Regions from separate parts of the Homo sapiens genome. Here regions 2 and 3 are each linked to region 1. Evidence: promoter capture Hi-C in human tissues and cell types (Jung and others, 2019). All regions are on one chromosome and are shown on one strand. The core of a region is centred on a gene start or on the middle of the fragment in contact, and the rest is flanking DNA. Distances in the headings are between cores, read along the strand shown.

What was found. Contacts are between HindIII fragments. The study calls those that stand out against the background at their distance.
Region 2: a fragment that was not itself captured here is called in contact with the fragment with the promoter of ATF4 in region 1 in 1 of the 25 tissues and cell types used here (lymphoblastoid cells).
Region 3: a fragment that was not itself captured here is called in contact with the fragment with the promoter of ATF4 in region 1 in 1 of the 25 tissues and cell types used here (dorsolateral prefrontal cortex).

What each region holds. Positions count from the first base shown.
Region 1 is chr22:39,519,007-39,522,510 of GRCh38, forward strand. It overlaps ATF4 (activating transcription factor 4), which reads left to right and starts at 1,556. Exons shown (of 3, transcript NM_182810.3): 1 at 1,556-1,745; 2 at 2,348-2,665; 3 at 2,767-3,504. The coding sequence starts at 2,440. RefSeq lists a silencer at 894-1,093 and enhancers at 1,474-1,623, 1,984-2,033. The HindIII fragment of the contact is 4,198 bases long and covers 1-2,937 here.
Region 2 is chr22:40,694,169-40,697,922 of GRCh38, forward strand. No RefSeq gene overlaps it. Among named protein-coding and RNA genes, the nearest start is that of MCHR1, 17 kb to the left of the region's middle. The HindIII fragment of the contact is 5,724 bases long and covers 1-3,754 here.
Region 3 is chr22:38,061,974-38,065,685 of GRCh38, forward strand. PICK1 (protein interacting with PRKCA 1) reads left to right here. Exons shown (of 13, transcript NM_012407.4): 4 at 3,029-3,157. Among named protein-coding and RNA genes, the nearest start is that of PICK1, 6.4 kb to the left of the region's middle. The HindIII fragment of the contact is 9,593 bases long and covers 1-3,712 here.

The DNA of each region.
Region 1 (3,504 bases), core at 306-2,805:
AATGTCCCAGCCAGGATTCTTTTGGATGCGCTCCCCAAAATCTGTCTTCTAACTCCTACCCCATACTCCCTCCACTGGGAGCCTTGTGACTTTGAGCAAGAAGCTTCATCCCATTGGGCCTCGGTTTACCATTGGAAAGGATTTGTGGGCGAGGTTGAATGAGCGCAGCAGATGGCCTGTGGTTATTTAGAGCAGTGCTTCCCTGGTTGTTTGATATCACAGCGCTCATACTTGTGTGGCCCAGTGAAATGGAGGCGGAAACTCAAAGTTTCCACCTTCACAGGGCCTGACTGGAAGGGGCTGAAGGATGATGGGGAGGTTTCTTGTATTCTTAAAACAGACTACCCCTTCCCAACGCACAACCCCCAGTAAGTGGCCGTGGGTTCCCAAGCGCCTCTCCTCCCTGGGCCATGGGCGTGACTGCTGAAAAGCGGGTTAGGCCGGGGAGTTCAGAATCCGGAGTGAATCCGAACTACCCCAGGGAGACGGCAGCGAAGAAAATCTTGTTCTTAGGAGAACGCAATCTTCGGACACCAGAAGTTCCTCTATGATGCTATTCTGTGGCAGCCTTGCACTTGAGCCGGATGAAAATTGTAAAAACCCAGGTTGGGCGACAGGACGGCGCGTCTTCCCGGCTCCTTTCCAGAGTTTAGGAGGAGCCATGCAGACTCAGCCGGCCTTTGGGGGTAGGTGGACAGGCCCGGCGCGCCCTCTCGAGGCCCCTTCAACCTCCCGGGGGCAGCAGCGCCGTGTCGGCTATGAATGGGGCCTCTGGAAAACTCAGGCTTGGAACAGGTAACCCCCCGGTTTCCGCAGGCCACAAATCACCACCCGCAACCGAAGGACGCGCAGGCTGGGAGCGGCGGCGGGGCCACCAGTGCGGACCTCCACTGAGGGCGGCGGGATCCGACCGCAAGGGCTGGTCCCTGAGGCCACTAAGGGGTGCGCTGGGCTAAGGCCGCCTGGGGGCAGGAGCCAGCGCGATCGTGGCGGGCCAGCAGGCGGGGCTGGCTGAGGACTAGCAGCGACCCGAGACCCCAACCCTTCCCACGCGGACCCCGGGATCCCTCTCCCAGCAGCCGCCCATCTAGGGCCCTGAGCCAATAAGAGCTCGAGATATATATGATTCACCGGGCCTGGGCCAATCACCTTGACGCGCGCTCTTCGCCAGCACCTCGCGCGATAACCTGGCGTCCTCGGCCTTCACAATAAAAACTCTTCGCCGGAAAACGACCTTTCCCCGCCCACTGCGCTGACACCGGAAGCGAGGCGTGTCTGGGAGATCACTCCGCGCTCCGGCGGCGAAGGAAAGAACGGACTCTGATCATAGAAGCCTAGTAAAGTAGTACACCTCTCTCCTTTCGTGAGGCCATAAGAACAAACTCCTTTTCTCGTCACAGCTACGCCCTGGGCATAAACGGTTGGGGCGTCAAAGGGAGGGAGGGAAGGGAGCGGGCGGGAGGAGACGGTCACGTGGTCGCGGCGGAAGGATGCGTCTGTGCTGCGTCCCCATAGAGACGAAGTCTATAAAGGGCCGGCGGGCGGCCACGGCAGCCATTTCTACTTTGCCCGCCCACAGATGTAGTTTTCTCTGCGCGTGTGCGTTTTCCCTCCTCCCCGCCCTCAGGGTCCACGGCCACCATGGCGTATTAGGGGCAGCAGTGCCTGCGGCAGCATTGGCCTTTGCAGCGGCGGCAGCAGCACCAGGCTCTGCAGCGGCAACCCCCAGCGGCTTAAGCCATGGCGTGAGTACCGGGGCGGGTCGTCCAGCTGTGCTCCTGGGGCCGGCGCGGGTTTTGGATTGGTGGGGTGCGGCCTGGGGCCAGGGCGGTGCCGCCAAGGGGGAAGCGATTTAACGAGCGCCCGGGACGCGTGGTCTTTGCTTGGGTGTCCCCGAGACGCTCGCGTGCCTGGGATCGGGAAAGCGTAGTCGGGTGCCCGGACTGCTTCCCCAGGAGCCCTACAGCCCTCGGACCCCGAGCCCCGCAAGGGTCCCAGGGGTCTTGGCTGTTGCCCCACGAAACGTGGCAGGAACCAAGATGGCGGCGGCAGGGCGGCGGCGCGGGCGTGAGTCAAGGGCGGGCGGTGGGCGGGGCGCGGCCGCCCTGGCCGTATTTGGACGTGGGGACGGAGCGCTTTCCTCTTGGCGGCCGGTGGAAGAATCCCCTGGTCTCCGTGAGCGTCCATTTTGTGGAACCTGAGTTGCAAGCAGGGAGGGGCAAATACAACTGCCCTGTTCCCGATTCTCTAGATGGCCGATCTAGAGAAGTCCCGCCTCATAAGTGGAAGGATGAAATTCTCAGAACAGCTAACCTCTAATGGGAGTTGGCTTCTGATTCTCATTCAGGCTTCTCACGGCATTCAGCAGCAGCGTTGCTGTAACCGACAAAGACACCTTCGAATTAAGCACATTCCTCGATTCCAGCAAAGCACCGCAACATGACCGAAATGAGCTTCCTGAGCAGCGAGGTGTTGGTGGGGGACTTGATGTCCCCCTTCGACCAGTCGGGTTTGGGGGCTGAAGAAAGCCTAGGTCTCTTAGATGATTACCTGGAGGTGGCCAAGCACTTCAAACCTCATGGGTTCTCCAGCGACAAGGCTAAGGCGGGCTCCTCCGAATGGCTGGCTGTGGATGGGTTGGTCAGTCCCTCCAACAACAGCAAGGGTGAGTGGGCCACCACCACATCGTCCTGGTGGGATCTAGGGTTAGGGGCCTCCTACCTTTGTATCTGACTCACTTGGCCCCATCACTCAAATGTTTTGCAGAGGATGCCTTCTCCGGGACAGATTGGATGTTGGAGAAAATGGATTTGAAGGAGTTCGACTTGGATGCCCTGTTGGGTATAGATGACCTGGAAACCATGCCAGATGACCTTCTGACCACGTTGGATGACACTTGTGATCTCTTTGCCCCCCTAGTCCAGGAGACTAATAAGCAGCCCCCCCAGACGGTGAACCCAATTGGCCATCTCCCAGAAAGTTTAACAAAACCCGACCAGGTTGCCCCCTTCACCTTCTTACAACCTCTTCCCCTTTCCCCAGGGGTCCTGTCCTCCACTCCAGATCATTCCTTTAGTTTAGAGCTGGGCAGTGAAGTGGATATCACTGAAGGAGATAGGAAGCCAGACTACACTGCTTACGTTGCCATGATCCCTCAGTGCATAAAGGAGGAAGACACCCCTTCAGATAATGATAGTGGCATCTGTATGAGCCCAGAGTCCTATCTGGGGTCTCCTCAGCACAGCCCCTCTACCAGGGGCTCTCCAAATAGGAGCCTCCCATCTCCAGGTGTTCTCTGTGGGTCTGCCCGTCCCAAACCTTACGATCCTCCTGGAGAGAAGATGGTAGCAGCAAAAGTAAAGGGTGAGAAACTGGATAAGAAGCTGAAAAAAATGGAGCAAAACAAGACAGCAGCCACTAGGTACCGCCAGAAGAAGAGGGCGGAGCAGGAGGCTCTTACTGGTGAGTGCAAAGAGCTGGAAAAGAAGAACGAGGCTCTAAAAG
Region 2 (3,754 bases), core at 909-3,408, 1.2 Mb after region 1:
TGGATTCCCTACAAACCTTCCTAGCTCTGCCACTTATTAGAAGATTAATCTTGCCCTATCATGTAATTTGGATTTTTTTTTATTTTTTTTTATTTTTAATGTACTATTGCCTTGTCTCTCCTAAGTCCATTGTGAGCTTGTGGTTAGGGAGGTGTATTTCTTCATATCTCAGCAGCTTTCACGCATTGCTTTGAACACAGCAGGTACTCACTACATAGTGGTTGATTGATACCTTGTTCACACCTCCCTAGAAGTGGACACCTATTGTCTTGCCTGCCAAACCCATCTTCCTTCTCTGGAAGCTGTTCCCTGTCTCTCTACCCCGCTCTCCCCCATCCTCATTGTAACGATGGAAGACTTCCTTCTCTACAGCCCCCGCCCCGCCATGCACGTCTCTCTCAGCTCCAGAGAGGAAGCTACAGTGTCTCACCAAGCTCTTGGAGGAGAGCAGCAGTTACAGCCAACATTTATTGAACATGTGCCAGAGACTGTTCCAGATGGTACATAAACTCTTAATTCAAGCTCATTAAACCCTGACAAGATCCCTACAAGGCAGGCAATATTTTTATCCCCATTTTACACAGGAGGAGACCAAGGCAGAGGCCTCCCGGCTGCTGCGTCTCCCATGCAGTACATAGGTTTATCACACTCCAATCTCTCTCTTCCTCTGTCACCATCAAATCCCCACTTTATTCTCCTGCCAGCCACTTCCACAGCACAGTCCAGACTGTTTCCCAGCTCCGTGTCTTGCCTTGTGCAGTTCCCCTCACCTGGGAATACTATGCCCCGCCTTTTTTTGTCTGAGTGACTCCTTAATCTTTAAGACTTAGGTCCGTCATTGCCTCTTCCAGGAAGCCCTCCTTGCACAACCTCTTGGCTCTCAGGTGGGGGGAATCGGTACCATCTCTCCATCACACTTTATTTATTTTTCTTTTCTTTTCTTTTCTTTTTTTTTTTTTTTTTGAGACGGAGTCTCACCCTGTCACCCAGGCTGGAGTGCAATGGGGCGATCTCAGCTCACTGCAACCTCCGCCTCCCGGGTTCACACGATTCTCTTGCCTCAGGTTCTGGAGTAGCTGAGATTACAGGCTCCTGCCACCATGCCCAGCTAATTTTTGTATTTTTAGTAGAGACGGGGTTTCACCATGTTGGCCAGGCTGGTCTCGATCTCCTGACCTTGTGATCCTCCCACCTCAGCCTCCCAAAGTGCTCGGATTACAGGCGTGAGCCACCGTGCCCAGCCTATTTGTTTATTTATTATTTATTTATTTTTGAGACAGAGTCTTGTTCTGTCACCCAGGCTGGAGTGCAGTGGCATGATCTCAGCTCACTGCAACCTCCTCCTTCCGGGTTCAAGCAATTATCCTGCCTCAGCCTCCCTAGTAAGTGGGATTACAGGCGTGCACCACTACACCCGGCTAATTTTCTTTCATTTTTAGTAGAGACGGGGTTTCACCGTGTTGGCCAGGCTGATCTCGAACTGACCTCGAGTGATCTGCCCGCCTCGGCCTCCCAAAGTGCTGGGATTACAGGCATGAGCCACCGCGCCTGGTCCCCCTTTTTTTTTTTTTTGAGATGGAGTCTTGCCCAGAGCGAGACTAAAGCATGCAGTGGCATGATCTCGGCTCACTGCCACCTCAGCCTCCCAAAGTGCTGGGATTACAGGCATAAGCCACCGGTAATCACGACCCATCACACTTTAATAATAATGCCCTGGGCTTCCCTCTGGAGTCGTGCTCACCGCATTGCAATTGGACACTTTGTTGACTTATTTGTGCCTCCATAGACTCCAGGCTCCATGAAGACATGGACCTCAGGGCTCAGCCCCCAGCCTGATGCAAAGGAACCTCAGAGTTTTTCCCAAATCCAATGTCCCAGCTGATGCTGCCAGTGGAGAAACCATGCCTCTTATGCCAGCATCAAAGAAACGCAGAGACGCCAGAGCAGTGGAGAGCTTCCATCCAACAAACTGAATACTCATGAGGCACACAGTTACTGGGAGAAAAGTGGCAGCATTGGACAGACAATGGCAAGAGTTGTCAGGGATGTGCAGAAATGGGAACCCTCAGACACGGCTCATGGGAATGTCAAATAGCGCAGCCACTGTAGAAAACAGTTTAGCAGTTTCAAAATGTTAAATATAGAGCTACTATAGAATGCAGCACTTCCAATCCTACAAGGCGGGCAATACTACAAGGCAGGCAATCCTACAACGCAGGCAGGCATTACAGACTCTACTGCATTTTTACAATGTGAACTTTCCATTCCTTTCTTGAACTCTGTTCCTGCCTCTTCCTCACAATCTATTACACAGCTTTCAGGGGCATCAAAGACTGAAACGCTATCTTCTTCTATTTGAAATGGTTCCAAAGTTGCTTTAATAATGGCCCAATCATTCCATACTGTAAGTGGGATGATTTTACCTTCCCTACTTGCTTGTTTTAATTCTTTGCCAATTTTTTCCCAGTCTTTTAAATCTAAAGTTCCCTGTTCTGGAAACCATGGGCAGAATTGTTCTATTGTTTGAAATAGCGTAATTATATTTTCTGTAGAAGCTTTAACTCCCCCTCTTCTGATGGAGATATATACCCAAGAGAATTGAAAATATATCCACACAACAACTTGTACACAAAGGTTTATAGAAGCATTATTCATAATTACCGAAAGGTGGAGACGGCCGGGCGCAGTGCCTCACACCTGTAATCCCAGCAATTTGGGAGGCCAAGGCAGGCAGATCACGAGGTCAGGACTTTGAGACCAGCCTGGCCAACATGGTGAAACCCTGTCTCTACCAAAAATACAAAAATTAGCTGGGTGTGGTGGCACATGCCTGTAATCCCAGCTACTCGGGAGGCTGAGGCATGAGAATCGCTTGAACCCAGGAGGCAGAGGTTGCAGTGAGCCGAGATCGCATCACCGCACTCCAGCCTGGCGACAGAGCGAGACTCTGTCTCAAAAAAAAAAAAAAAAAAAAAAGTGGAGGCATCTACAAGTCCCTCAACTAATTAATAGACAAATAAAATGCAGTAAATCTATGCAATGGAATTATTCAGCCACAAAATAAAGTACTGATACATGCTACAACACACATGAACCTTGAAAATATGCTAAATAAAAGCCAGTCACAAAAGATCTCATATTGTGTAATTCCATGTACATAAAATGTCCAGAATAGGCTGGGCATGGTGGCTCACGCCTGTAATCCCAGCAGTTTGGGAGGCTGAGGCGGGAGGATCACTTCTGGCCAGGAGTTTGAGACCAGCTTGGGCAACATAGCAAAACCCCATCTCTACAAAAAAAATTAAAAATTAGCCAGGTGTGGTGGTGCACACTTGTAGACCCAACTCCTTGGGAGGCTGAGGCACAAAGGATCGCTGGAGTCCAGGAGTTTGAGGCTGCAGTGAGCTATGATCATACCACTGCACTTCCAGCCTGGGTGACAGAGCAAGACCCAGTATCTCTCTCTCAAAAAAAAAAAAAAAAAAAAAAAAAAGTCCAGAATAAGCAAATCCATAGAGATATCAAGTAGGTTAGTAGTTGCCAGAAGCTGAGGGGAGGGAGAGATGGGGAGCGACTGTTAACAGGTACAGGATTTCTTTCAGGGGTGATACAAATGTTGTGGAATGAGATCGTGGTGATGGTTGTACATCTTTGTGAATATACCAAAAATCACTGAATCATACACTTTAAAAGTATGTGAATAAAGAATTCACACACTTTATGGTATGTGAATAAAGAATTCACATACTTTATG
Region 3 (3,712 bases), core at 527-3,026, 1.5 Mb before region 1:
AGTACAACGGAGATTTTGTTCGGGAAATCTTTTCCAGATGCCTCCTAGGCTCTGTTGTAGGCACTAGGGATAAAAGAATAAGAAAGCAAAGATCCTACTCTTGCGGAGCCCTCATTCTAGTCAAAACAACTCTATGTTTAACTTTCTGAGGAATCTATGTTTCTTTTCTTAATTCAGCCTGTTCTTGTGTTTTGAGAGGGTGGGGGTAATTTCCTGTTTTGTTTTTTTCATTTGCACTCTCCTTGTTTTCTCAGTATGTTTTCCACAATTTCCCATCTTTTTTTTTTTTTTTTTAAATTAAGTCTTGCTCTGTTGCCAGGCTGGAGTGCAATGGCGTGATCTTGGCTCACTGCAACCTCCAGCCCCCGGGTTCAAGTGATTCCCCTGCCTCAGCCTCCGAAGTAGCTGGGATTACAGGCACGTGCCACCACGCCTGGCTAATTCTTGTATTTTTAGTAGAGACGGGGTTTCACCATGTTGGTCAGGCTGGTCTCGAACTCCTGACTTCAAGTGATCCACCTGCCTCGACCTCCCAAAGTGCTGGGATTACAGGCGTGAGCCACCATGCCCGGCCCCATTTTCTTCAGTCTGTTTTCCGCCCTGTAGTCTCTCCCCCTTGTGCCCTCCCCCTGCCCCTGCCCCTTCTCTTTGGATTCCCCCATCTTGGGGGTCCCTTTCCTGGTTTACTCCCTGATCTCCCGTGGAGAATATCCTCCTGTAGCTTTCTGAGAAAGGGCACGTGGGATGTCAATTTTTTGAGACCTCGGGTCTGTCTTTTTTGGTCATTGTGGTTCCCATATTCCTTTCAGTTGACATTTTGGCTCATTCGATTCAAGAATGAACGTCAAGGTTGACAGTAATTCCTGTGTGGAAGTGTGATGGCCTTGTCACATTGTCCTTTGCTGTCACATGGCTATTGCCATTCTTATTGGTGATCCTTTATTTGTGATGTGTTTTATTTCTGATCTGTGAGAACTTTGAGGACTTTGTTTTTGTCCCTGGTGTTGGGAGGAGTCGTGATGGTAGCTGCAGGCACAGGCTTTTGTTTATTGTGCCAGATCCTCAGAGGGCGTCATCGGGAACACCATGTCCTTCTTGTCATGTATCTCGATGATGACATCCTGCTTTCTGTATTCTCTGTTCTGCTTTTTTCTATTTTTTTATTGTGGTAAAATTTACCATCTTAACTTTTTTTTTTTTTGAGACAGGATCTTGCTCTGTCGCCCAGGCTGGAGTGCAGGGGTGCGATCATGGCTCACTGCAGCCTCAACCTCCTGGGCTCAAGCGATCCTCCCACCTCAGACCCCCGAGTAGCTGGGACTACAGGCACGCGCCACCATGCCTGGCTCATTTTTGTATTTTTTTTGTAGAGACAGAGTTTTGCCATATTGCCCAGGCGATCTTCCCACCTCGGTTTCCCAAAATGCTGGGATTACAGGTGCGCACCACCGTGCCCAGCCCTTGGTCTATTTTTGAATTAGGTTGTTTGGTTTTTGTTGTTGAGTTTTAAGAATTCTCTACAAAGCACAATCGGCTAAGAGGAAAAAAAGAAAAAAGAGTTTTAGGAATTCTGCATATATTCTGGATATTAATCCCTTATCAAAAATGTGATTTGCAAATATTTTCTCCCATTCTGTGGGTTGCCTTTCTTTTCTTCTCTTCTCTGTTCTTTTTTTTTTTTTTTTTCGAGACAGTGTCTCACTCTGTTGCCCAAGCTGGAGTACAGTGACGGGATCTCAGCTCACTGCAGCCTCTGTTTCCCAGGCTCAAGCGATCCTCCCACCTCAGCCTCCCAAGTAGCTGGGACTACAGGCGTACACCACCATGCCCAGCTAATTTTCGTGTTTTTTGTAGAGACAAGGTTTTGCCACATTGCCCAGACTGGATGGTGTATTTTGATGCACCAGTTTTAAAATTTTTATGAAGTTCAATTTGTTTATTTTTTGTTACTTGGATCTTAGGTGTCACATCCAAGAAATTACTGTAAACTCCAATGTCGTGAAGGTTTTGGACTAGGCATTTTTCTGAGTTTTATAGTTTTAACTTTTACATTTAGGTCTTTGAACAATTTTGAGTTAATTATTATTATTATTATTATCTTCGAGACAGAGTCTCGTTCTGTTGCTCAGGCTGGAGTGCAGTGACATGATCTCGGCTTACTACAACCTCCACTTCCCAGGTTCAAGCGATTCTCCTGCCTCAGCCTTCTGAGTAGCTGGGACTGCAGGCGCCTGCCACCATGCCCAGCTAATTTTTGTATTTTTAGTAGAGATGGGGTTTCGCCATGTTGGCCAGGTTACTCTCGAATTCCTGACCTCAGGTGATCTGCCTGCCTTGGCCTCCCAGAGTGTTGGAATTACAGGTGTGAGCCACTGCGCCTGGCCTTGAGTTAATTTTTGTATGTGGTGTTAAGTAGTGTCAACTTCATTTTTCACATACCATTGTTGAAATGACTGTCCTTCCCCATTGAATGTTCTTGACACCCTTGTCAAAAATCATTTGATGCCGCCGGGCACGGTGGCTCACACCTGTAATCCCAGCACTTTGGGAGGCCAAAGCAGGTGGATCACCTGAGGTCGGGAGTTTGAGACCAGCCTGACCAACATGGAGAAACCCTGTCTCTACTAAAGATACGAAATTAGCCGGGCGTGGTAGCGCATGCCTGTAACCCCAGCTACTCGGGAGGCTGAGGCAGGAGAATTGCTTGAACCCGGGAGGCGGAGGTTGCGGTGAGCGAGATGGCGCTATTGCACTCCAGCCTGGGCAACAAGAGCGAAACGCCGACTCAAAAAAAAGAAATCATTTGACTATGTATTTGAGGCAGGAGAATTGCTGGAGCCCAGGAGTTCAGTGCCACAGTGAGCTGTGATCACGCCACTGCACTCCAGCCCGGGTGGTGAGACGCTTTCTCAAAAAACGAGAGCAGAGGGTAGAGTGGAAGACAGAGCCAGGCAGTGGTCAGGTGTCTTCCCAGGTTCCATCTTAGCCCTCCCTTTCTTCCCCCACCACTCTCCTTATGCACCCACAGGTATTTGACAACACCCCAGCAGCCTTGGACGGCACAGTGGCAGCTGGCGATGAGATCACCGGTGTCAATGGCAGGTCAATCAAAGGGAAAACTAAGGTGGAGGTGGCGAAGATGATTCAGGAGGTGAAGGTAAGGGCTGCTGCAGAGCAGGTGTCCAGAGGCAGCAACACATGTTTCTGAGACCTCCAGGCTGCCAGAGGTCCCAGCAGGCCTGGAAGGGGGTATCAGCCCTCACCGCCCCCTTCCTTGTCATGTGCAGGGTCAGGGTCACACTCCAGCCTCCCTCATCCATCCCTCATTCATTCAATAAATACTAATCGTGCTCCAGGACTTGTGCTGAACCTTGGCAAGAGAGTGGGCAGCAAGACCACAAGGTCCCCATGAGCTCCCAGGGAGCTGACAGACTTGGAACCACCCCTCAGGCAAGCCCATGTGTCCCCAGTCAGTGCCAGAGCTGAAGCTAAAAGTCCAAGGTGATCCTCCCTGGGTCAGTAGACACCCAATAATGTCAGCCGGGTCACGCTGGGCCTGTGAGGGCTAGGAGGGAAAGAAGAGTGCCCTTTCCCCATCCTGTAGGAACTTTCGGTCCCACACAGCCTCCTGGGCTCATAGACACCCAGAGACCCCCCTCCCAGGCCAGCTGATCTTCTGCTCTACAGACCAGAGTCACACACTGCCTGCCCC